Regions from separate parts of the Homo sapiens genome. Here all the other regions are linked to region 4. Evidence: promoter capture Hi-C in 16 types of primary human blood cells and fetal thymus (Javierre and others, 2016). All regions are on one chromosome and are shown on one strand. Each heading gives the region's core, a stretch centred on a gene start or on the middle of the fragment in contact. The rest is flanking DNA. Distances are from core to core; before and after follow the strand shown. Region 1 overlaps PRDM16 (PR/SET domain 16). Region 2 overlaps PRDM16 (PR/SET domain 16). Region 3 has its middle 5.0 kb from the start of ARHGEF16. Region 4 holds the start of ACTRT2 (actin related protein T2). Region 5 overlaps PRDM16 (PR/SET domain 16). Region 6 overlaps PRDM16 (PR/SET domain 16). Region 7 overlaps PRDM16 (PR/SET domain 16).

Region 1 (3,346 bases), core at 300-2,799, 340 kb after region 4:
AATTTTCATGGCCGGGCCAGGAGGCCCAGAGGCCCAACATGGGCCCGCGCAGCCTCAGCCAGGTGCCCCGAGCAGGACACGTTGCTTCGGAAGGAAGCAGCATGTTTTCGGGGACCCTGTGGTTTCTGGGTGCTGCTGTTCCCACCTGGCGAGCGCTGCCTTCTGCACGCTGCCAGGGCTGTGTGTGTACGCCGTCCCTCATTCCCTCGTGCAGCCTGGGAAAGCCTTACCCAGTGCTGGGCCCCTGAAGTTTCCTCCCAGGGGATGCAAAGGAAGGGAAGGCACCAGGGTCCCCAGGAGAAAATAGGTTTCTCTGAGCCAGGGACCCACTCGGCCAGTGGGCGAGGGCAGCAACCTGGAGCTGGCACTGTGGGTTCCTTTTGGGTCTGTTCAGGAAAGTGGGAGTCGGGTCGCATGGCCCCCCGCCTGGAGCTTGGCAGTGCCCAGGGGGCCTTGGGTGGGCGCAGTGACCCTGGGCGCCCTGTGCCGCCGTCCTCCTCTGCCACACACTCAGCCTGCTGTGGCACCAACAAACCCCTACCAAGCACCTACTGTGTGTCACACGTGTGCCAGATCTGGTTCCCCACCCCTGGGCTGGGGGCTGTCCCTGCCCCTGAGGGTCAGGAAGAGGAAAGGCGCGTGTGGCTGGGTTTGGGAAGGAAGGAGAGGCAGTGAGGAGGGGACCTCCTGGCCAATACAAGTGCTCCCTCCCGCCTCTTCCTCCTTATATTGGGCAGGCCCACACCCCAAAGCCCCACTGTATTCCACCACAGGACCTGAAAGAGCTCTGGACCATGGGGTGATCCATGGGGTTGGTGGTGCCCCCAGAGTCAGCCAACAGACAAGGAGAGGGAATACTGGGGGCTCTGTGCTAGGCAGCCAGCGGCCCTGAATGTTAGCTGCAGGCAGAGGTGTCAGGCCCTGAAGCTGCCACTGCACACACAGGTCATAAATCCCGCCTAAGTGGCTCCCGTCACCTCGCCGCGGCCTCGTTTCCATTCTGCAGCAGCCAAAGGTGATTAATGAGAATTATCATTTGTGCTAATCAGAGCCGTTTGGAGGAGGTTGGGGTGGAAGGAAATGCCCTTTGTGGGGCTGCAGGGACGACTTTGAAGGCTGTCAGCTGCACGTGTTTATGTGCGCAGGGATGCACGTGCACACACATGCACACATACACACACGCACACATGCACACAAACGCACACGCATGCACACATGCACACACACGCACACACGCACACAAACATGCACACATACGCGCACGCACACACACATACACATACATGTTCATGCCACATACGCACAGAACTGGCCTGTGGGGCCAGGGAGGGTCTGGGAAGATGGCGAAGAGGTGAGGCTAAGAAATAACCCTTGACCTGTGGCTCAGGGGGGCTCTAGCGCCCCGATGTGCCGACAGCCGGAGAACACAGGCTTCGCACAGCTTGGTCCGGCTGGAATGAATTCTTTCCTGCCACTGAGCACGACCATGACTTAATGCGCTTGGCGGCCGCTCGCAGACTAGACAGGCTTGGCCAAAATCAGACCCAGTGCAGCAGGACTCCGGGACGCGCTGATGTCCTGACGGGAAGGCACGCACTCTCTGTGGGTTCTGCCTTCTCCCCTCAAGTGGACGGCCGTGTCCCCTGCCCTGGGCCCTCCATGCCTGTTCGCGCTCAGTATGCCGGGACACTCTCTTCCCACCCATCTCCCAGGCTGTGCCGACCAGGGCTGTGCAGCGGGCCTCCCAGCCTCCGTAGCCTGCTCCGGGGGCCAGTGTGGCTTAAAGATACAAAGTGTCCTTTTATTGGAAATATCAATTCAGAAAGGGGCTAGTAGTAAGCTGAGAATATTTGGATAATCTTGACAGCCCTGAGGACTAAAAAAGACCTTTTGTTCCCAGAGAGAAAAAGGCCGTCGCACCACCCTGGGCTTGCTGGAGCAGTTCCAGAAAAAACTGAGGTCGGAGCAGAAAAATGATTAGGGCGTCTCGTGAAAGATCTCTACTCTAGGTCAAATGTTTATTATTATTTATTTTATTTTTTTACTAGAATGTGTGGTTAACATGCTATTGCATAACATCAGGCTGTAACCGTGTCTGTGAACACCACGTCAGTCTACCCGGTCTGTAGTGCACAAAGAGAACTTTGTAGCATCCCGGGGAGTGAGGGGGCTGCACGTGCGTGTTTTGTTTTGCTAGGCTTTGTTTTCAGGATGCTGACGACCGGTTAAAGATGGAGCAAGGGCCGGGCACAGTGGCTCACGCCTGTAATCCCATCACTCTGGGAGGCCGAGGCCGGTGGATCACCTGAGGTCAGGAGTTCGAGACCAGTCTGGCCAACATGGTGAAACGTCATCTCTACGAAAAATACAAAAAATTACCCGGGCGTGGTGTTGGACCACTGTAATTTCGGCTCCTGGGGAGGCTGAGGCAGGAGAATCTCTTGAACCCGGGAAGCAAAGGTTGCAGCGAGCCGAGATGGCACCATTGCACTCCAGCCTGGCCTGGGCAACAAGAGCAAAGCTCTGTCTCAAAAAAAAAAAAATTGATGGAGCAAGCATCTTTAGTGTTTGCGGCTCAAGAACATAACTGCCATGGGGAGGTCTCTGCTCCATTTGGACAGGAAGCGTGTGCGGGTTTCATGGCAGACGTGACTTGGGAGGGGTCTTGTCTGGCAGAGGAAAGTTGAATTCAAGCTCTTTGCTGTGGTTGAGCCAGGTGGGGACACCCCTAGATGCTACCTTTCAGCTGATCCCAGGCCTAACGCACCCACAGCCAAATGGCTTTTGGGGAGTGGCTGGAATGTGACAGCTGCCGGCCCAACAGCTCTCAAAAGTGCCGGGCTCAAGCGTCCATTGTCCAAAAACACGTGCGGTCCTGTGGTTCCCTAGGTTCACAAGGAGAACTTCTTCCCCGCTGTAGACTACGTGTATAAATAGAACATATTGGCAAGAGTGGAAGGAGTGTATTTTAAAGCACTTACACTTCTGAATGTATGTTTTATACTGATAAGAATTAATGGAGCCGGTAGTGAGTACACTGATTTTCAGTGTTATGATTCTGTTATATTTTGTTTTAATTAAATGGGATATGAAATCGAAAAGGCAAGCTTGTCTTCAAAAGAAGGCATTTGAGGAAGAATCAAACTAACTCTTTGTACTTTAAAAAATCATTTAAAAGTAGTTGTTGTTTAGAGAGGAAGACTAAACAAAAGCAACTTAACGTAAAAGTAAAGTCATCATCTGCAGAGAGCTGGAGGAGGGGACAGAGATGAAGGGTTTGGGGAACATTCTGTACCTGACATGCCAGAGGGCCCAATCCCCTCAAAGAGTCAGGGAACCTTCTAGA
Region 2 (3,647 bases), core at 449-2,948, 280 kb after region 4:
ACTCTGCCCTTGTTGAAGATGCTATGCTGTGGCTGTGATGTTTCAGATCCCAGTCGTGGTGACTCTGCCCTTGTTGAAGATGCTATGCTGTGGCCGTGATGTTTCAGATCCCAGTCGTGGTGACTCTGCCCTTGTTGAAGATGCTATGCTGTGGCAGTGATGTTTCCGATCCCAGTCGTGGTGGCTCTGCCCTTGTTGAAGATGCTATGCTGTGGCCATGATGTTTCCGATCCCAGTCGTGGTGACTCTGCCCTTGTTGAAGATGCTATGCTGTGGCCATGATGTTTCCGATCCCAGTCGTGGTGACTCTGCCCTGGTTGAAGATGCTATGCTGTGGCTGTGATGTTTCAGATCCCAGTCGTGGTGACTCTGCCCTTGTTGAAGATGCTATGCTGTGGCCGTGATGTTTCCAATCCCAGTCGTGGTGGCTCTGCCCTGGTTGAAGATGATGTGCTGTGGCCGTGATGTTTCCGATCCCAGTCATGGTTTTCCAGCCTCAGGAGCACATCTCCTCCTCCAGCAATTCTTCGTTCCCTGGAGCCTCGGAACCGCGGTGCAACTGGGGTGCGTTTGTGCCAGGGAAAATGGATTCTGCCGGTGTCTGACTCTACCAAGATCCACGCATCATTGTTAGCATTTCCTTTCATTTCTCTTTGTTATTATTTGTCTTTTCCACCTTGTACCATCCCCCCGAACCCCATTTATGTGTGTGAAGTCAGTTACTCTACCCATTGAGCAAGAGCTGAGCAACCGTGTATGGAAATATCTTCCTTCAACCGCTTAGATCCCAGACCCAGACTTTTGTCCTTCAGCACCACGAATGAAGACTTGCTATCACCCTCGCTGTGGTGTTATCTGTTTGCTTTTGGCACTTATCACCTGGAAGGCAGTCCCCGTTTTCTCGTCTCCACCAAGGGAGCTTGTCAAGTGCAAGGCTGCACTCCTTGACCCCACCAAACCTGACATGAAGTGAGGTTCAAGAAATGTTTGGGCCGGGCACAGTGGCTCATACCTGTAATCCCAACACTTTGGGAGGATAAAGAGGGCAGATTGCTTGAGTCCAGGAGTTTGAGACCCACCTGGGAAACCTAGCAAGACCCTGTCTCTACAAAAAAATTAAAAATTAGCTGGATGTGATGGCATGTACCTGTAGTCCTAGCTACTCAGGAGGCTGAGGTTGGAGGATTGCTTGAGTTCTGGAGGTCAAGGCTGCAGTGAGCTGTGATATTGCACCACTGCCCTCCAGCCTGGGCAACAGAGCAAGATCCCATCTCAAAAAAAAAAAAAAAAAGAAAAAAAAAAAGGAAGGAAGGAGGAAAAGAAAGCTTGCCAAACAAATGAATAAATGAAAAGCCAATAAATGCATTTGTAGTTGGGGATATGTGCTTTAGAGAAAAGGGGATGTTAGATTTGGTCATTTTAAGTGACTCCTTTATTAAACCCTTGGTTGTCTTTGTATTTTTAAAAGAAGACGTCTCGGTGACCCAGTGCTGAGGCTGACACCTCTGGCGGAGCCCAGCTTCCTTTAGCAAGGGCTCTGTAAGACCCAACTACAGACTGTGTCCAGGGCTCGAAAAACGTCCGGTGGGCAGGACAGGGGATAGAGAAGGTCTGGCCAGAAAACTGGATTTTGCTCTGTGTCTGTTGGCTTGTTACTAACCCCAAGCAAAGCCACTGTCCCAAGCTGGCCCAGACATCCAGGGTGTACCCAGGCACACAGGGGCACACACCACACCTGAGCCACATTCTGTGTTTTCCTGTGTGCTCCAGGCCTCCAGAGGAGCTCCCAGCCATTGGATTCTGTGGAAGTATCTCCTGACGCCCCCTGTTTGAGGCCCTTCCCGTGGAAATCCATCTGGCGCGTGTTGGTCACCGGGGGACTGCTGACTTAGCTCCAGCAGAATTTGGAGGGCCTTTTGGCTACATGAGAGTGCAGTTTGTTCTGTTGATATAAGTAGACGGTTCATTCTCATTATGCTCAGCTGCAGTTCTCTTCTATGCAGTTGCCAGGAATGCTGAATTAGCAGGTCCTAAACTGTTGCTCCTAGGAGAGATACTGTGTTAGGTTCCTGCAAGCTTCTGGTCACATTTTCATCTACTGGTCAATAAACAACCTTATTCTACATGTGGTTCTGCTTAGAAACCCCTTATCTAACACAGGCGTCTCCGAGATTTCCCGGGGTTGGTTCCAGATCATCACAATGAAGTAAATATTGCAACAAAGCCAGTGACGCAAATGTTTTGGTCTACCATACCGTAGTATGTGCAGTGTGCAATATATGGTGCCTAAAAACAGTGTAGATACTTTAATTTACAAGTACTTTGTTGCCAAAAAAAAGGTGACGGTGGCATGCAGTAAGCACCTGCTGTTAGAAGAATGGCACCAGTAGACTTGTTGGATTCAGGGTTGCCCCAAAGTATCCATTGTTGCCACAAAGTATCCATTTGTTAAAAAAAAAATGCAATATTGCAAAGCACAGTAAAGAGAAGCTCAATGAAATGAGGTGTGCCTGGATACATTGTCGAGCCATCCTCACTGTAACTCAGCCTGAACCAAGCTGCCCTAAGACATGTAATTCTACATCAGGCACCTTGCAGCCTCTCTGTGCCTGGGAACTGCAGACAACACTTTAGCACTGTGCGTGGGGCCATTTTAAACAGTGAAATCGGCCACAAAAAAACCAAACGTGGAAAACATGGCACTAAGTAGACTAGAAAGAACACCTGGTCACAGTGCGAGAGCTGAGACAAGAGGGTGGAGAAGACCCCAGCTGGGAGCACACATGCCAGACAACCCGGGTCCTTCACCCCTCGGTGCAAGTCCAGGAATGGCCTTGGGTGCACTTCATGTATTGATTTGGGGGTCACAAAGACATCTTAGCAAGTAGGCAAATTCAGGAATATAAAATCTGGGTATAATGAGGCTCAACTGTATAAATAAAAACCTATATAATATATATCAGTTTTATTGATATATACACTTATATATATCAGCTTTATAATACATATATGTCAGTTTTACTGAGACGTAATTCACATACCATATAATTTTCCCTTTGGAAGTGTTAGTTTTTGGTCACAGAGTGGCACACCACACCACTGTCTAATCTTAGAGCATTTCCATCCCCCCAGAAAGAAACCTCTGACCATTAGCAGCCCCTCCCAGTTTCTCCTCTCCCCCCAGCCCCTGGTAATCATGAATGTCCTCTCTGTCTCTGTGGATTTGCCTCTTCCAGACATTTCCTGTAAGTGGGACTATACAATGTGCCATCCTCAGGACCTGGCTTCTCTGCTCAGCATAGGGTTTCTGAGGTTTTGCCACGGTGAACACGCGTCAGTCTCCCACTCCTTTTTATGGCCCAATAATATTCCATTGCATGAAACCCACATTTTCTGTCTGCGTCCAAATGTCCACTAATGGACATTTGGTTGCCTTTCGCCGTTGGGAAGAGTGCCGTGGTGACCGTCCCAAGACAAGTGTTTGTGTCGAGAGACATCTTCATTACTCTTGGCCGTATTCTTAGGAATGGCATTACCAGGTCATCCAATGGCTTTGTTTAACTTTTTGAGGAACTGTCAGACTGTTCTCCATGGCGGCTGCACCGGTTCACATTCCCACCAGTAGTGTGAGGGTCCTAACTTCCCCA
Region 3 (3,288 bases), core at 582-3,081, 430 kb after region 4:
GCATCATGTCACTGGGTCTTGCTTTTTATCCAGTCTGACAATCTCTATCTTTTAATTGGGGTGTTTAATCCATTCACATTTAATATAATTATTGGTATGGTTAGATATAGGCTACCATCTTGATATTTGTTTTCTATTTGTCAGATCTGGTTTTCGTCTTTTTTTCTGTTCCTCTGCCCTCTTTTGGATGAGTATTTTCTAGGATTCAATTCTCTCTTCTCCCTGGACTTATTAGCTGTAGCTCCTCACCTTAATTTTTAGTGTCTGATCTAGAGTTTTCAGTATTTATCTTCATCATTGTCTATCTTTAAGTGATATTATACTCACTGTAAAATATACAAACTTTACTCTGGTATATTTCTATTCTCTCCTCCTGCATTTTGAACTTTTACTGTAATATATTTCACTTTTACATATAAATTTGATAATACACTGTCGTTATTTTCACATTAGTCTCTGATCTTTTAAAGAACTGTTTTGGGCCGGGTGCAGTGGCTCACACCTGTAATCCCAGCCCTTTGGGAGGCCAAGGCGGGCAGATCACAAGGTCAAGAGTTCAAGACCAGCCTGGCCAAAATGGTGAAACCCCATCTCTACTAAAAAGATACAAAAATTAGCCAGGCATGGTGGTGTGTGCTTGTAGTCCCAGCTACTGGGGAGGCTGAGGCAGGAGGATCACTTGAACCCAAGAAGTGGAGGTTGCAGTGAGCTGAGATCGTGCCACTACACTCCAGTCTGGGCGACAGAGTGAGACTCCATTTAAAAAAAAAAAAAAAAAAGGAATGTTTTGAAGCACAGAAAAAAAGCCTCTCACATTTATTGACATATTTGCCATTTCCAGTGGGTTTCTACTCCTTGTGCAGACCTGAATTTATATCTGGTATCATTTTCCTTTCGCCTGAAAAAATTCCTGTGACATTTCTTATAGTGTGGGTCTACTGGTGATGAATTTTCTCAGCGTTTGCCTTAACATGTCTTTATTTTCCTTTCATTTTTGAAGGATATTTTCAAGAGAAATGGACATCTTGGTTGACAGTTTTGTTTTCTTTCAGCACTTTAAAGATGTTGTTGTAGTTCTCTCAGCTTTCAGTGTTTCTGATGACAAGCCAGCAGTTATTTTGGTCTTTATTCCCTTACGATTTTTCCCTCTGTCACTGGTTTTCAGCCATTTCATTATGAGGTACCTTGGTGTGGTCTGCTTTGTACGTATGCTGCCTTGACATCTTTGTACTTATTCTACTTCATTTTAAGGTCCTTGATTCTGTGGATCTATGAGTTTTTATTACATCTGAAAAATTTTCAGCCATTCTTCCTTTTTTTTTTTTTTTAATAAGACAGAGTCTTGGTCTGTCACCCAGGCTGGAGTACAGTGGTTCAATCACAGCTCACTGGAGCCTCGACCTCCCTGGGCTCAAGCAATCCTCCCACCTCAGCCTCCCAAGTAGCTGGGACTATAGGCATGCACCACCATGCCTGGCTAATTTTTGTACTTTTAGTAGAGACAGGGTTTCACCATGTTGCCCAGGCTTGTCTCGAACTTCTGGCCTCAAGTGATCCGCCCGCCTCAGTCATGCAAAGTTCTGGGATTACAGGCGTGAGCCACTGTACCCAGCCATTGCTTTAAACATATGTTCTTCCCTCCCCACTCCCTCCTTTCTGGTCCTCCAGTTACACATATTGTTAGACTGCCTGATGCCTGATACCGTCTCAAGGTGGGCAAGGCTCGGTTTCTGCCTTTTCCCTAGGTTTTTCCTCTGCGTGCTTCAGTCTGAGTAACTTGTCCTGGCTTCAAGTTTACTGATTGTTTTCCTCTGTAGTTTCATCTGCTGTTAATCTCATCCAATAGATTTTTTGTTTCCTACACTGTATATTTTCATCTTTAGGATTTCCATTTGATTCATTATTATACTTTCCATCTCTCCTTTGACTGTGATCATCGTTTCCTATAAATCCTTGGGTGGTGTGTGTGTATATATTATATATATGTGTGTGTGTGTATATGTGTGTCCGTGTGTGTCCGCGTGTGTGTGTGTGTGTGTGTGTGTGTATAGAGAGAGAGAGACAGGGTCTGGCTCTGTTGCCCAGGCTGGAGGGCAGTGGTGCGAGCTCAGCTCACTGCAGCCTCCAAATCCTGGGCTCAAGTGATCCTCCCACCCCAGTCTCCTGAGTAGCTCACCTAGCTAATTTTTTGTATTTTTTGTAGAGATGGGGTTTCACCACGTTGCCCAGGCTGGTCTTGAACTCCTGGACTCAAGCAACTCACCATCTCAGCCTTCCCAAGTGCTGGGATTACAGGCATGCGGCACCATGCCCAGCTGATCCTTTGGGGTATTTTTGATTGTTGTTTTAAATGCCTTCTCTGCGAATCCTGTCATCCGTGTCATTTCTGGGTCTGCTTCTACTGACTGATTTTTTTCCTAGTTATTTGTCACAGGTTCCTGTTCCTGCTTCTTCACATGTCTAGTAATTTTGCATTGGGTGCTGGAGGTCGTAAATGTGTAATTTTGCATTGGGTGCTGGAGGTCGTAAATGTGTAATTTTGCATTGGGTGCTGGAGGTCGTAAATGTGTAATTTTGCATTGGGTGCTGGAGGTTGTAAATGTGTAATTTTGCATTGGGTGCTGGAGGTCGTAAATGTCAAATTGTTTGAGTTTCTGGATTTTACTGGCCTTCTTTTCAAGCATGTTGAGTGTTATGCTGATGCACAGTTAACGTACTTGTGGATCAGCCTGGTCCTCTCAGGACTTGCTTTGAACTTCTGTTAGGTCATGTCTAGAGGAGCTGTCACCCTAGGATTACTTCAGCCCTTCACCTAGGACATGGCCTTCTTTGGTATCTACTGAATATTCTGGGTGGTCAGGATTTTTTCCCTCTGTCCCTGGTTTTCAGCCATTTCATTATGAGGTACTGTGGTGGGGTCTGCTTTGTACGTATGCTGCTTTGACTTCTTTGGACTTATTCTCCATTGCTTTGAGGTTCTTGGATCTGTGGATCTACAAGTTTTTATCACATTTGGAAATTTTTCAGACATTCTTTTTTTGAGACAGAGTCTTGGTACAGTGGCTGGAGTACACTGGCTCGATCATAGCTCACTGGAGACTCGTCCTCCCCAGGCTCAAGCGATCCTCCCACCTCAGACTCCCAAGCGGCTGAGGTCAACGAGGGATAGTCAGCGACGGTGCTTCCTTCCTGGTGGCTGACGTTCCAGCGTCCCCTGGCCTGGTATGAACTCTGGTGTCACTCTGCTCACAGAGCTCCCTGGTCGCTGTTGGTCCCTGGCTTCATGGG
Region 4 (3,346 bases), core at 302-2,801:
TCTGGGTCAACAGGTTTCGAAGGAGGCCTCAGGGCCCTAGGCCGTGCCCATGGGTCAGTGCCTCCGTCCACACCTACTGCCTCAGGGAGCCCGGGGTCTCTGAGACGACTGCAAGCAAGCTGTGTGGTGGCTGCCACAGTTTCCAGAGAAATGGAGATTTAAGAGCCACACCTGCCCTGGCACGCTTTTGACTCAGTTTCCCTCTGGGGGGGTCCCCTCTAGGAAAATCCTTCAATAATCAAGTTTTTGTTGACTACCACCCAGGGATTAGTGGGGCCCACAAAACCACGTGTCAACAAGACACATCTACACCACACATCAACAACGAGTGTACCGCGCGTGTCTACACCACCCATCTATCCCATGCATCTACACGGCACATCCATATGCGTCTGTACCTCGTGTCTACACCACATGTCTGTACCACGTGTCTAGACTGCCCATCTACAACATGTGTCTACACCACCATCGGATTAATGCCTGCTGGTGGGTCAGCAGGGCAGGCAGGACACACAGAGGGGGCCACCAGCAGGAGCTGAGGGGCTCCAGGAAGGGAGTGACCCCGGGAGGCGTCCTCTGGGAGAACTCTGGGGGGCCAAGCTGGGCTGGAGCATGATTGTGGATATGACAGGAGAGGTAGAATAAACCTCACATTCTCCAAGGCCACCTCCAACCTCCTTAGGAAAAAAGTGAAGCTGGTTCCCAGGTTGGATCCCCTCCCACTTTCTCCCCAAGCGGAAGACAAAGCGGGGGTCTGAGTGCCGGGCGTGCACTGTTGTGGGTGCCCTTGGCCTGGCCCGGTGCCTCCTTCCTGGTCATGCTCAGGCCTTGACCTTTAATGGCCTGGTCACCTCTGAGCATTGCTCTGTGGTTGTGGCCTGACTGTGTGGCAGCTCATAGACACAGAGAGGTGTCACAGGCTGCAATCCAGGCTACCCATGTGAAACCAGCAGGCCATATCTTCAGGGCTGTTGGGTTCCCAACTCTATGGCTGCTGGACTTTGTTGTGTGCTGGCACTTCAGAGTCTGCAGAGAGGAATGAGGGGTGCTGGCCTCAAGCCAGAGCAGAGATGTATTCCTGGACAAAGGGCCAGCAGCCCAGAGGGCTTTGAATAGGGTCTACCCAGTGGGACAGACAGCCAGGACTAATGGGATGGAGGGAGGAGAAATCCCTGAGAGCTTCCTGGGGGAATCACTATTCAAAAGCACATTCTAAGTGCCTGCTGGGACAGAACTGCTTACAACACCCCTCCGACCTGGTGCTTGGTTTTCCCCCTTAGCAAAGGGAAGTGTTGTCACCCCAGAAGTTGCAGCTCAGGGGCCAGAGAAGCTGGTTTTCTAGGGTGCACGCAGGCTGGGCTGCTTCTCTCCACTCTAAAGCTAAGTCTCTGCCTCAGCCCACAGGCTTGTCCAGCACCGCCCTAGGATGCACTTGTCTCTCTCTCTCTCTCTCACCTCACCCTGTGGGGGATGGGGGACTCAGAGCCCCACCCCCAGGGCCTCTGAGGCTCAGGACAATCGTTGCCTTGGCTAGATTGTTACCTAGGAGACAACCCCCTGGCCCCCTGGAAGAGGCCTCAGCAGGCCCAGGCCACCTGGAGGGAGAGCAGACCTGCGGCTGAGGATGCAGGGCTCCCGGGCACGGTGCTAGCCCTGCCTTGAGACACCCCGAGAGCTGTGGGAAGAGCTGTGGGATCCCCTATTGCATCACAAAGCGGCCCTGGAGGGCTGGTCTTTATTTTGATGAGGCTGAGAAGGGAAGGCTGCGGGCATGTTTAATCCGCACGCTTTAGACTCCCCGGCTGTGATTTTTGACAATGGCTCGGGGTTCTGCAAAGCGGGCCTGTCTGGGGAGTTTGGACCCCGGCACATGGTCAGCTCCATCGTGGGGCACCTGAAATTCCAGGCTCCCTCAGCAGAGGCCAACCAGAAGAAGTACTTTGTGGGGGAGGAGGCCCTGTACAAGCAGGAGGCCCTGCAGCTGCACTCCCCTTTCGAGCGTGGCCTGATCACAGGGTGGGATGACGTGGAGAGACTCTGGAAGCACCTCTTTGAGTGGGAGCTAGGCGTGAAACCCAGCGACCAGCCCCTGCTTGCAACGGAGCCCTCCCTGAACCCCAGGGAGAACCGTGAGAAGATGGCAGAAGTCATGTTCGAGAACTTCGGCGTGCCCGCTTTCTACCTGTCGGACCAGGCGGTGCTGGCTCTCTACGCCTCTGCCTGTGTCACGGGCCTGGTGGTGGACAGCGGGGATGCGGTCACCTGCACTGTCCCCATCTTTGAGGGTTACTCCCTGCCCCACGCAGTCACCAAGCTCCACGTGGCGGGCAGGGACATCACGGAGCTCCTCATGCAGCTGCTCCTGGCCAGCGGCCACACCTTCCCCTGCCAGCTGGACAAGGGTCTCGTGGACGACATCAAAAAGAAGCTGTGCTACGTGGCCTTGGAGCCCGAGAAGGAGCTTTCCCGGAGGCCGGAGGAGGTCCTGAGGGAGTACAAGCTGCCCGACGGGAACATCATCAGCCTCGGGGACCCGCTGCACCAGGCGCCCGAGGCCCTGTTCGTGCCCCAGCAGCTGGGCAGCCAGAGCCCCGGGCTCTCGAATATGGTCTCCAGCAGCATCACCAAGTGTGATACCGACATCCAGAAGATCCTCTTTGGGGAGATTGTGCTGTCGGGGGGCACTACCCTGTTCCACGGGCTGGATGACCGGCTTCTCAAGGAGCTGGAGCAGCTGGCCTCCAAGGACACCCCCATCAAGATCACGGCTCCCCCCGACCGGTGGTTCTCCACCTGGATTGGAGCCTCCATCGTCACCTCTCTGAGTAGCTTCAAGCAGATGTGGGTCACCGCCGCAGACTTCAAGGAGTTTGGGACCTCCGTGGTGCAGAGAAGATGCTTCTGAAGGCCGCTTCTCGTTGGGTACCGTGGGGGGTGAACCCTAGCCCCAGCTTTGGGAGGATGTTCAATAAAGGACCAATGCCGGAACACCTGGCCACCTCGGCTCAGTTCCTTCTTGGGGGCGGCAGAGTCATTTCTGGCCCTGACAGTGAATCTGTGAAGTGTCTTGGTCCACACCCGCTCCCCTTCGCTTCCTCCCAAGAAAGCCTGGGCTGAGGCCAGGCTGTGTCCATCTGCAGTTTGTATGAAAGTAGGGCCCTGGGCCTCAGGTGAATAGGGCGCTGGAGTCCGCATTCTAAACAAGGGTCTTAGGTGGGCTGAGAGAGTCGGCAGGGATGGTGGGGACTAGCGCGTGCACCAGGTTCTGACGGCTCAGCAAGAAACCCCTCCCTGTGTGGGCCCTACCTAGCATGCCAGGGCCGGGGCTCTGCTTGTGTGAGGCCGG
Region 5 (3,552 bases), core at 193-2,692, 380 kb after region 4:
TCCCCTCCCTTCCCCCGCCTCGCCCCCCAACAGGTGTAGACAAAGGGCCCCCTGGTGGGACACACCCTGGGGATATGTGCCCCTTCTGGGACACTGGCGCTGCGGGCAGAGCAGGTGCAGGATCCCGTGGCCAGAGCCGCAGGTGTCCCCTGGCTCCGACCGCAAATGTCCTGGCCCCAGAAAGCCACCTCCTAGGCTCATGGCCCTGCCTGCCAGGGCTGCGCTGCGGGGAGAAACTAGAAAGGAGAAAAACTCAGGCCAGAGCCCAGACCTGCAGCCGCTAAGCCCAAGGCTACTTCTGTAATAAGGTCCCAGACCGGGATGGGGGTGGCAGCACCCACCACCAAGGGATTCATGGTGGCCCCACCCTCCGGACACACGAGCAGCTCCTTCTCAGATGGTAGGCAAGAGCCAGAAGGGGTCACCCCTATCCCCAAGGCACCAGCCCTGCTCCCCACCAGGTGGCAGCGGACTGTCCCAGGAGGGGCTTCAGAGACATGAGCGGGCCCACGGTGGCCCTCCCCTGCCCTGAGACCAGGCAGGAGCCAGCATCTGGGGCCTGGGCGGCCTTGGGGACCTGTGGCCCCCGGGAAAGACAAGATTCCTGGTCTCTGTGGGGAGTGAAACCAGGACATTCAGTCCAGTGCTGTAAGGAGCTATGGAGACTTTTCCAACCTGGGCCCCTCCTCCTGCCTTTGAGGATTTCCTCCAGGACAGCCTCGCAAAGTCAGAGCAAAGCCCATCAGGCCACTAACCGGCTATGTGATTGCTGGGGATTACCGCCCATCCCCGCACCGCTCCCTGGGGACGGCAAACCCTCCACCCGGAACAGATGACTGAGAAAATAAACGTTTGGGCAAATCCCAACTGCGGCCCTTCCCAGTAAACGCCGCTCAAGAGGGTCCGTGTTTTCTTTACATAAACACATAAATCACAATTAACAACGGGGGAAAAGATACAGTCTCCTGATGCTCGGGAACCAGGCGTTTCTGATCTGAATGGATGGCTGGGCCCCGTAATTAACGAGCCGTGATATATCACTGCTTTGCTCATGAAGATTAACGGTCATCCCTGGGACAAGGGAAGCCGGGGGTCCCCCAAGAGCAGGGAATTAGAGCGACTCCTTCATCCAAGTGCAGCGGCCCCTCCGAGCAGCTGTGCTCGGGTCCCCTCCGTGTCACCTGGAGACCCCCGAGTGACTCCCGACCTGCGTCCTCGGTGTGTGCCCAGCACTCAGAGGGGCATCCTTGGGTTTGGGGGACTTGCCCCACTCCTGGGTTCATGCCAGTGTTGAACCCCTTTTTTCTTAGGCCCAAGCCTAGCTGCAAGGCCAGGACCAGCTTGAGAGGCACCCAGGGAGTGTGGGCCGGGGTCCGGCACTGCCTCCAGCCGCCCTGGGGGTGGTCTTGGGTGAGGGATGGAACCATCCAGGTGCCGGCTTCCCCATCTGCTAGGGGAAGGCCGCCTCTGCCCCTCACAGCCCGGCCACGGCAGAGAGGAGGTGGGCAGGGAGACACCAGCATGTGCTCTGATCCCTCGGCAGCGTGGTGGGGGCTCCGAAGGGGCACTGGGAACAAGCTGTATGGTTGGGGTCCCCTCCCGGGCAGAGGGCAGGTAGTCGGGCCCCGCAGTGAGCCTCGTCCTCTGCGCAGCCTGGAGCAGCACATGGTCATCCACACGGAGGAGCGCGAGTACAAATGCGACCAGTGTCCCAAGGCCTTCAACTGGAAGTCCAACCTCATCCGCCACCAGATGTCCCACGACAGCGGCAAACGCTTCGAATGTGAAAACTGCGTGAAGGTAACCTGCGGGGCGGCCCCGTCTCAGCCCCGGGGCAGCAGGAGGCTGCAGACGGGCGCCCGCCCCCGTGCTCCCTACACCCCCTGGTCCAAATGTAGATGGAGTGCGGCAGAGTGGGTAGGAGGCCCCTGCGGTGGCTCGGGCCCTTCCGTGTGACTAGGAAGGAAAGGAAGTCTCAGGGAAGACCGTGTCCCCCAGGTCAGAAGGATCAGGGCCGAGACCAGAACCCAGGCCCCTCCAGAGCGCGGCTCCTGTCCTCCCGCCGGTGTGGAAGGAAGAGGCTGGCGGGGCTGAGCCGAGCCTCCACCCCGAGCCCGCCAGGGTCTCAGCACCACAGCTGAAAACGCTTTCTGCAGCCCTGTCTCACGCAGCCTCAGTTCAGGAATTGTTCTTGAGGAAAGCAGCCGGGGAGGCTCTGCGGCTCACTTAAGGCCCTGCAGCGGGTCCTTGCTACACAGAGACCTGTCCCGGCCTGCTTGGTGCAGACTGCAACGTGGCAAGAGAGACAGGCAGGGCCCTGCCCCCCACAGCCGGTTGGTCCGCCAGCCAGAACCAGGCCAAGGCGGGTGTCCAGGCAGGGCACGCGCCAACGGCATCCGTCTCCCCAGGTGTTCACGGACCCCAGCAACCTTCAGCGGCACATCCGCTCGCAGCACGTGGGCGCTCGGGCCCACGCCTGCCCCGACTGCGGGAAGACCTTCGCCACGTCCTCCGGCCTCAAGCAGCACAAGCATATCCACAGCACGGTGAAGCCTTTCATATGTGAGTGGTCGCCCAGCCTGGCCGCCTGCCCTCCGGGTGCGCGGATGCCGTGGCGGTCGGGCCGAGGTGGGCCATCCCCCAAGGTCTCCCCCGATCCGAGGGGCCCCAGTTTGTTCATAAAGCACTCATGGCAGGTTCTGACATCTCTGCCGCGTGCAGCCTGGTCCCCGGCAGGCACCCTCTGAGTTTGTCCCTCACTGCTCCCCTTCCCCATCCCGTCCTCCTCCACGGCTCCCCTTGCTTCACCTCACAGGGGCTGGAGGGGGGCAGTGGGTGATGGGAGGGACCAGGGTCCTGCAGAAGGAGCTGGACCCTCCCTCCCTGTTGCTACTCCCGTCCCCCGAACTCACTCCCCACCTGTGCCGAGCTCCAGAAGGGCGTGCTTCTGTGCTGCCCTGCACGTGACAGTCTCAGCAGACACCCACTGGGATTGTCAGGGCGGTGTCTCTAGGGGGCCCTGTCTGTGCCCAGTGCTGTTCCAGTGCGGGGGCCAGCCCTGAATAAAAGACCAGCTGTCTTTAGGAGGCTCGCACACCAATGGGAGGAGACAGGCAAGCCAGACAAGCAAGGTGGCAGGCACAGCTCTGGGTGCAGCGGTGTGGGGTTACAGCCTCACAGGGGGCCAGGCTGGCAGCCTGGTGTGGGAGCTGAGACTGCCTGTTCGATGAGAGGCGTTCCAGCAAAGACACAAGGAGAGTGAGCCCTGGGCACCTGTGGAGGAGGCTCAGGAGGGAGCTGTGAGCGTAGAGGCCCAGAGGCCAGGGTTTGTTTAAGGAGTGAGTGAGCGGAGTGAGAAGAAAGGGCCAGGTGGTGGCTCACACCTGTAATCCCAACACTTTGGGCGGCCCAGGCAGGAAGATCACCTGAGGCCAGGAGTTCAAGACCAGCCTGAGCAATGTAGCAAGACACCATTTCTACCAAAAAAAAAAAAATTTTTTTTTTAATTAGCCAACCACGGTAGTGTGTGCCTGTGGTCCCAGCTGCTCAGGG
Region 6 (3,609 bases), core at 781-3,280, 360 kb after region 4:
CCACAGCCCACGAGCTTGGGAGCATTTCTGCCGCTGCCGTCTCTGAAATAAGACAGGCTTTGAGTGAATCTCCCACTGCCCTGGATGGAGCCAGAAGGGGCCCAGGGGCAGGCACGGCTGTGTGTGATAGGGAGCACAGGGACCCCAGGAGCACGCCCCTCTATCCTGGCTGACCTCCCGCCCTGCACCCCAATCTATCTCACCCAGCACCTCTGGAAACCCTTAGTCGGGAACCCCAGCTTGGTGGTGGATGTCAACAAGGAGACTGAGAGCAAGTGGAACAGGAAAGAGACTCGAGGCCCTCTGCCTGTCTCTGCTGTGCTCTGGGGGCCAACTTTCCCTGGAAGCCTCAGGGGAAGAGGGAACACCATGCACAGAGACCGGGGCACGTGGACCACATGCTTCCCCATTGATTGGTGCCGACGTTTAACTTTTCAAAAGAATTCCAGCACCAGGCCCGAGATGGCTAGGAACCCAGGAGAGTGCATGCCCAGCATCTGAGGGTCAGCCAGCACCAGGCCCGAAATGGCTAGGAACCCGGGAGAGTGCATGCCGAGCATCTGAGGTGCCCAGAGTCAGCCTCCACTGTTTTCACTTGGACAGGTCACTGTCTCATCCTGACTCCCCTGGGTCCTTGTGACTCCCTTATCCATCACCCCTGCCCGCCCAGACACACCTGCTCAAAGACACACCTGCCTAAGGACACACCTGCCCACCAGGACACACCTGCAGAAGGACACACCTGCCCACCAGGACACACCTGCAGAAGGACACACCTGCCCAAGGACACACTTGCCCACCAGGACACACCTGCCCAAGGACACACTTGCCCAAGGACACACCTGTCCAGGAACACACCTGCCCACCCAGATACACCTGCTCAAGGACACGCCTGCCCACAAGGACACATATGCCCACCGTGACCCACCTGCCTGCCAGGACACACCCACCCAAGGACACAGCTGCCCACCCACATACACCTGTCCAGCAGGACACACCTGCCCACCCATATGCACCTGTCCAGCAGGACACACCTGCCCAAGGGCACTCCTGCCCACAGAGACATAGCCTTTCTACTTTAGGGACCTGAGTGTAGCGTGGCCCCATCCCCTGCCCCCTGCCCTCCCTCCTGCCCTGTCTGGGCTGGGCTGCCCAGGAAGCTTGCCCAAGATGCTGCTGGTTTGAATTCAGAACCCAGAGTAGCTACTGGCCAGAGTGGGGGAGGCTGGGGGGCCTGCAGCCGCCACCCATGGTCAGGCTGTTTGAGGGGACACCGTCTCTCCACAGTGGACAGCAGGTCAGGTCTCCTCATCGGTGGTCCTCGGAGGAGTGGGGGTCACAGCAAATAAGAAAAGTCCTAGGGGTTGCCACTCTGCCCGTTCAGAGGCAACAGTGACAACAAAGCAAAGCCAAGTTGGTTCGCGTGTGACTTTGCGGGCGTGGTGAGAACAGCTAGGCGTCTTCATGCTGCTGGGTGTCAAACTGAAACTCTCCAGCTTTAAGGAAACCAGATGCTTTTCTTGCTCTCAGAGTGATGTGCAGGCTGCCCTGAGCATGCACACACACATGCACACCCAGCAACACCTTCACCTTCAGACACGCTTTTCTCTAGCGCAGCGTCCCAGCTCCTTAGCAGAGGGCTCTGCTCCCAGATGCAGCAGTCCCTGCCTTCTCACACGTGGGTCAGCTTTGCTGCGGGGGTGGGGGTTGCAACTCTGGAGGCTCATTTTATCGCCGGGCCAGGGCAGTGATCTGCTCGGTGAGAAAAGAAAAGGCCATTCCCTGCCTTTCTGCTGGGCTCCTGGAGACTCCTGGAGACTCCCGGGCATGGGCAGGCTGGGTGGGCTGGGAGCCCCGCTGATGCCCGGAGGGTGGGCTGAGGTCTGGACGCCGACTTGCCTTCCTACTTGAGCCCAAACAGCCAGGTTTCTGGGTGGGCAGAGGCTGTGTGCAGACTCCAGCACACAGGGCACCTCTGACTCCCGCTTCGCTTTCCTCCCAGCAGATCTCCGAAGACCTGGGCAGTGAGAAGTTCTGCGTGGATGCAAATCAGGCGGGGGCTGGCAGCTGGCTCAAGTACATCCGTGTGGCGTGCTCCTGCGATGACCAGAACCTCACCATGTGTCAGATCAGTGAGCAGGTAGGTCCGGGCTCATAACAGGGGCTTCTGCCTCTTGGAATTGTCCCTGAGGATGTGGCACCAAGATTGGTGGAGGTGCCGAGGCAAGGGTTGTCTGAGCCTCTTTGGGGACATCTGCCAAGCCCTGGCCTGCAGTGGGGGTGCTGTTTGGTGCTTGGCCAGCACTGGCTTCCGGGGAGCTGACTCACCCCGGGAGGGCTCCATTGGAGCCTTGCTCAGGGACCCTGCCTGAGGCTGGCAGTTCCTGAACCCCGAGATGGTGGTTCAGGTGGAAAAGAGCAATGAAGCAGGCAGGACCGCGGATCACAGGGTCCACACTTCCTGCAAATGCCGCTTCCCTGAAGGACACGGGAGAAGCATAGAGCAGGAACAGTCACTGAAAGAATCCATCTAAATGGCGCTGTTTCACCAAATTTTCCGAAGAGTCCGCACCGGCCAATGAGGCAGCCACTCGGGGGGCCTCCTAGAGCCTCCGGGGCCTCTGACCAGCCTGCTGAAGGCCTTGGCCTTTTTGGCACAAAGTCCCTGTCCTGCAGGCAGCGAACCAGGCAAGAGATACCTTCACTTCCGTCCCTGCCACCTCGGGGCTGAGGAGCCCCCTAAGCTCCCTGGATCCTTGACCTCCACGGCTGGTCCACACCACCACCAGAACAGGCATCCAGACCCACAGGCTGATCAGGGGAGAAGACGCGGAGTCTCCTTCCACTCCAGAAGGCACCGTGTCCCCAGAGCTGGTCGCTGCTTCATGGATTTCTCTATTTCAAGCTTGCGAGTGGCCCCTGGAGGCCCTTCTCACTCTCAAGCCAGGCCTCCCGGGCGGCACTTTCCGCCTGCATCCTGAACACCGTGCGTTCCTCGGGGTGCCCGGGGTGCCCGGGGTCCCCGGCCCCTTACATCACAGTAGTCTGGTTTTTCCTGTAATATCTTGGGGTCATACATGAGATTTCATTTGAAAAAAAAGAAAAGGATCCCATGGCTGTGAAAAATGTGTGTGAAGACCACGTCACGGAACATTCCCGCGTAGCCTGTGCAAGCCATTGAAAGTGATTCAAGGCTCTCGACTTTACAGAAACAATTTTGCATTAAGAAATGCACAGAGCAAACTCCAGGGAGGTCCCGCAGGCCCCGGCTGGCTGCCAGGGGCTCTCCCTCATTTGCCGTCCCCTTGGCTGTGGAGCAGAATCTCCATCGAGCAGTTGCTCCGCTGGACAAGCTCGTTCTGGATGGGGACATGAATCTACGCTACTACCAGGACTTCCGTGGCCTTCAGTTAGAGCCAAAAATGTTTAAAATAACTTTTTCTGATTGAAAAAAAAATACAGAGATGAAGCAAAAGAATAATCATAAACATAAGAGCAGAACTTAAAAAAATTTTTTTCTTTCTTCCAGATGAAAGTGAAATTGGAGTGAAGGAAAATTGGGCTTGAGGCGCATAGAAGGACGGTCTTTCCGTCCCCTTCTGGGGCTCA
Region 7 (3,599 bases), core at 565-3,064, 410 kb after region 4:
CGTGTGCGTACACCTAGAGACACATGTACACGCATGGGCGCACGTGCGTCTAGACACACAGCAGCAGAACGATGGTGGAATTCGGATCCAGGAATGTCGGCGCATGCTCTGTGCAACCTGGGATACCAGGGCTCCGTAGGCCTCACTTACTCTGGGGGAGCCTTCAGACACCCCAGCGGGGCTGCTTCCTTTGTGAAAGCTAACACCAGCCAGCTGGCAGAGAACCGAAGGTGTTCCAAACTCCAAGAGGCCTGAGGGGGTGATCCCCTGATTCTACAGAAGGGAAAACGGGGCCCACAGAAGTGGGGTGTCTTGCTCAGGCCCAGAACCTAGAGCCAGATCCCAAGCTTTTACCGCACTGGCCATGGGCGGTCTAAGGCTCTGTACCCACAGGGCCCAGCTCACTCCCCACCACCTCCAGTAGGTGAAGAAGAAGCCCCCTGAGACCCCAGCTCCCTCAGAGCCCATCCCCTCCTCCAGGGCAGGGCTGCGTCTTCCTGTCATTGCTTCTAGGAGAGTGGGGGTACCTGGGAAAGAGGCATCCAAGCAATAAACACAGGAGGCAGTTGGACACTGGCTCTGGCAAAGCCACGTTCCAAATCTGTGCCCCTCCTAGGAAGGTGAGCTCACCTGTAGGGCCCTCAGCATCTTCATCCATCAGAGCCCAGAGCGGGCTCAGAGGAAGGGGCGGGGGGAGAAGCTGGCTCTGGGCCGTGGTCCCAAAAGCCTCACCTCCACCCCAGTGCAACCCCACCTACTCTGCAGCCCCCAGGCTGTCCCGGCATTCCCCAGTGGGCTCCAGGAACGATGGCCTGAAAGGAACTCTGCCCTGGCCACGCTGAGACAGCCGCATGGGAGCTGTTCGTGTTCCCTGCAGCTGCGTGTCAGACCCATGAGCGCCACAGGCCAGGCCTTACCTACGCCCCACAGCCCCGTCCCCAGGCACAATCCCCTAAGCTGCAGCTCCCAGAGTAAGGCCAGGCGAGGAACAAGTGAGGATTCATCAATGGCATCCTTGCCGGGGTGGGCCCAGGACCAGGAGCGTGTGCGGAGGCTGAACCACCTGGAGGACAGCAAGGCCCCCCTACCCCGAGCTAGGGTGCAGCCCGGCCGCACTGCAGGAGACCCACCAGGACCCCGAGCTAGGGTGCAGCCCGGCCGCACTGCAGGAGACCCACCAGGACCCCGAGCTAGGGTGCAGCCCGGCCGCGCTGCAGGAGACCCACCAGGACCCCGAGCTAGGGTGCAGCCCGGCCGCACTGCAGGAGACCCACCAGGACAGAAGGCTGTCTCTAAGAGAAAGAGATGTGGCCGGGCCTCCCCCTCGCCTATGGCAAGGCCCACAGTGCCCTGCTTCTCACAGCCCTAGGGGTGGGGACGAGGGAGGCTCTCCACACCTCAGAACATACGGGCACAGCCGGCCTCAGACGGACTCAGACTCAGGCCCTCGGAAGACCCGTCCTGCTGAGGCAAGGTCCCCGGGTCCAGCTGGCCTGGTCCTGAGAGCCCCTGCGTCACTGACGAAAATGAGAACAGGGCAAGGTGGACATAGGCAGCCAGTCCCTGGGGTGGCGGGAACGTTCCCTGGGCCTCCTGCAGAACCAGCTCCTGCCCTCCGCCATCAGGAAGGATCCAGTTCTGTCAGGAGTCCTGGTCCTGCAGCCCCGTGAACCCCTGAGTTGAATCATGTCCCTCAGCATTCCCAGGTGGAAGTCCCAGCCCCCGGTACCTCAGAATGGGACTCTCTTAGGAGATAAGGTCTTTAAGGAGGGATTAAGCAGAGGCCACACTGGGTAGAGTGGGCCCCAATCCAGCGGCACTGACGGCCTCTTAAAAAGGGGGCACTTGGAGAAAATCACGCAGGGGAGAAGGCCAAGGGAAAATGGAGACAGAGGTCAGGGTGATGCGCCTCCCAGCCAAGGGTCACCTAAGAGGGACAAAGGTCACCAAGGATGGCCAAGGAGGGCCAAGGGTCACATAGGAGGGCCGAAGAGTGCCAAGGTTTGCCAAGGATGGCCAAAGAGGGCCGGCAGCAGCGGGAGCTGGAGAGAGACCAGGGACAGATTCTCCCCCAGAGTCTTGGAAGGAACCCGGCCTGCCCTCGCCTGGATCTTGGACTTCTGGCCTCAGAGCTGTGAAAGCGTCCACGGCTGTTGCTTCAGGCCCCCATTCTGTGGGGCTTGGTTTGGGCAGCTCTGGGAAACTGACTGTCCTCCCTGTTGGAGCCAAACCAGCCACTGGGCCCTATTCTGTGTCCGTGCCGGATGCTCCGCTCCCCAACACTAAAAAGCAAATACTCTGTGCATGGGGGGTGTGCAGCAGACATAAAGAGGGCAAAGTCCCTGCCCCCAGCTGGTGGGAAGCCCATGCAAACCCACGTGGGGCCACCAGATGAGATCTCACAGCACATGCCCATGTGATGAGCCTGGGCTCTCACCCTGCGCCATCTCATCCCGTCCTCAGAGTGGACAGGGAGGGGTATGTCCTCGTGTCATCGAGAGGGCACAGGCCCCAAAGACAGAACCCCACCCGAGGGCACCTCACCAACAACCAGGGTGAGAACCAGGACCCGGATCCCAGCAGCTCCGTGGCTGAGGAGATGGGTGTGTGTACAGGACGCTCTTGGCCCCCAACACAGGCGACCAGGACCGAGGAACTCTCCTCAAGCCCTGAAACCTGGTGAGGTTCTGTCCGTCCTGGAAGGCAGAAAGACAAGAGATAGACACGTGGCCCATCTGTGGAGAGCCAGGAAATTGTGGCCTCCCCAAGCCCAGTTCCCGTGCACACAGGCGAGTCCGAGACACGGAGGTCGGTCGCCGTGAGACGCTGTCACTTTCTTGCTTGGATGCCAAGAGCAGGACCCCTGCATCTCACCCACACCGTGGATACCTCCCAGGGCAGCGGGAGGCAGTGCCCCCGGGCGGAGTGAGGACAAGGAAGAGTGGCCCTGGGGCTCTGGGCATGGGCAGTCCAGAAACTGCGTGCCCTGCCCTTTGCTTGGGCCCCTCTACCAGTATGTCCAGCATGTGCCCGGGGGCCCTCAGCTCCCCTGGGGCCCAGCCCACCCAAGACACAGCTCTTGGTCGTGAACATGAAGATGAGCCAAACTCTAGTGGCTCTTCCTGAAAGAAATGAGAATGCCCAGCCACACCCATGCACGCTTTGTTCTTTTTTATTTAATACTGAGGAACCGGAGTGGAGGGGTCCTGCCGGGCTGCAGTGACCCTGAGGGAAGTCAGGAGAGCCCTGGGCTGCAGAAGAGTCCCCCCACAGGCTCCGAAGCAAGCTTGTCCTGGTGCATTCAGACTGCTCACAGCAGGCTTTGGGCCCTCACTCTCCAGATCCCAGAGAGCCCTCCAGGGCTCCCGGCTCTCGGGCCAGTGCCCACGTCCTCGAGTTGTCAGCCTGAATTCCTTCCCCCTGAAGTCTGCCCTGAGGGTGCCCCTCGTGCACTGCCCAACCCCCGTGCCAGTGCAGGTCCAGCTTCCCCACAGGACTGCCCACTGCTTCCACCCCAACACCGCCCCGGCCCTGGTGTCCTCCCGGCCATAGCAGCTTGCTGCTGGGCCTTGCCCTGCCCCCACCGCCCCGAGCGCTTG

Evidence for each region. Contacts are between HindIII fragments. The CHiCAGO score rates a contact against its expected background, and 5 or more counts as called.
Region 1: a contact is called between a fragment that was not itself captured here and the fragment with the promoter of ACTRT2 in region 4, in 6 of 17 cell types (megakaryocytes, M1 macrophages, M0 macrophages and 3 more). The highest score is 9.0, in megakaryocytes.
Region 2: a contact is called between a fragment that was not itself captured here and the fragment with the promoter of ACTRT2 in region 4, in 1 of 17 cell types (fetal thymus). The highest score is 5.0, in fetal thymus.
Region 3: a fragment that was not itself captured here is called in contact with the fragment with the promoter of ACTRT2 in region 4 in 3 of 17 cell types (M0 macrophages, M2 macrophages and M1 macrophages); the score reaches 6.4 in M0 macrophages.
Region 5: a fragment that was not itself captured here is called in contact with the fragment with the promoter of ACTRT2 in region 4 in 7 of 17 cell types (megakaryocytes, M0 macrophages, M2 macrophages and 4 more); the score reaches 12.9 in megakaryocytes.
Region 6: a fragment that was not itself captured here is called in contact with the fragment with the promoter of ACTRT2 in region 4 in 1 of 17 cell types (megakaryocytes); the score reaches 7.1 in megakaryocytes.
Region 7: a fragment that was not itself captured here is called in contact with the fragment with the promoter of ACTRT2 in region 4 in 14 of 17 cell types (M0 macrophages, megakaryocytes, M1 macrophages and 11 more); the score reaches 33.8 in M0 macrophages.

The regions. Positions count from the first base shown.
Region 1 is chr1:3,364,745-3,368,090 of GRCh38, forward strand. All of the region lies in intron 3 of PRDM16 (PR/SET domain 16), which reads left to right. Among named protein-coding and RNA genes, the nearest start is that of ARHGEF16, 88 kb to the right of the region's middle. The HindIII fragment of the contact is 3,111 bases long and covers 1-3,105 here.
Region 2 is chr1:3,300,059-3,303,705 of GRCh38, forward strand. The region is part of intron 3 of PRDM16 (PR/SET domain 16); the gene reads left to right. Among named protein-coding and RNA genes, the nearest start is that of ARHGEF16, 150 kb to the right of the region's middle. RefSeq lists enhancers at 1-447, 3,290-3,459 and a cis regulatory region at 3,375. The HindIII fragment of the contact is 751 bases long and covers 1,324-2,074 here.
Region 3 is chr1:3,447,992-3,451,279 of GRCh38, forward strand. No RefSeq gene overlaps it. Among named protein-coding and RNA genes, the nearest start is that of ARHGEF16, 5.0 kb to the right of the region's middle. The HindIII fragment of the contact is 5,295 bases long and covers 1-3,288 here.
Region 4 is chr1:3,019,916-3,023,261 of GRCh38, forward strand. It overlaps ACTRT2 (actin related protein T2), which reads left to right and starts at 1,552. Exons shown (of 1, transcript NM_080431.5): 1 at 1,552-2,988. The coding sequence starts at 1,772. The coding sequence ends at 2,905. The HindIII fragment of the contact is 17,158 bases long and covers 1-3,346 here.
Region 5 is chr1:3,403,087-3,406,638 of GRCh38, forward strand. PRDM16 (PR/SET domain 16) reads left to right here. Exons shown (of 17, transcript NM_022114.4): 7 at 1,653-1,800; 8 at 2,409-2,562. Among named protein-coding and RNA genes, the nearest start is that of ARHGEF16, 50 kb to the right of the region's middle. RefSeq lists an enhancer at 477-977. The HindIII fragment of the contact is 6,765 bases long and covers 1-3,552 here.
Region 6 is chr1:3,383,147-3,386,755 of GRCh38, forward strand. It overlaps PRDM16 (PR/SET domain 16), which reads left to right. Exons shown (of 17, transcript NM_022114.4): 4 at 2,006-2,140. Among named protein-coding and RNA genes, the nearest start is that of ARHGEF16, 70 kb to the right of the region's middle. The HindIII fragment of the contact is 1,745 bases long and covers 1,159-2,903 here.
Region 7 is chr1:3,427,061-3,430,659 of GRCh38, forward strand. All of the region lies in intron 14 of PRDM16 (PR/SET domain 16), which reads left to right. Among named protein-coding and RNA genes, the nearest start is that of ARHGEF16, 26 kb to the right of the region's middle. The HindIII fragment of the contact is 2,939 bases long and covers 346-3,284 here.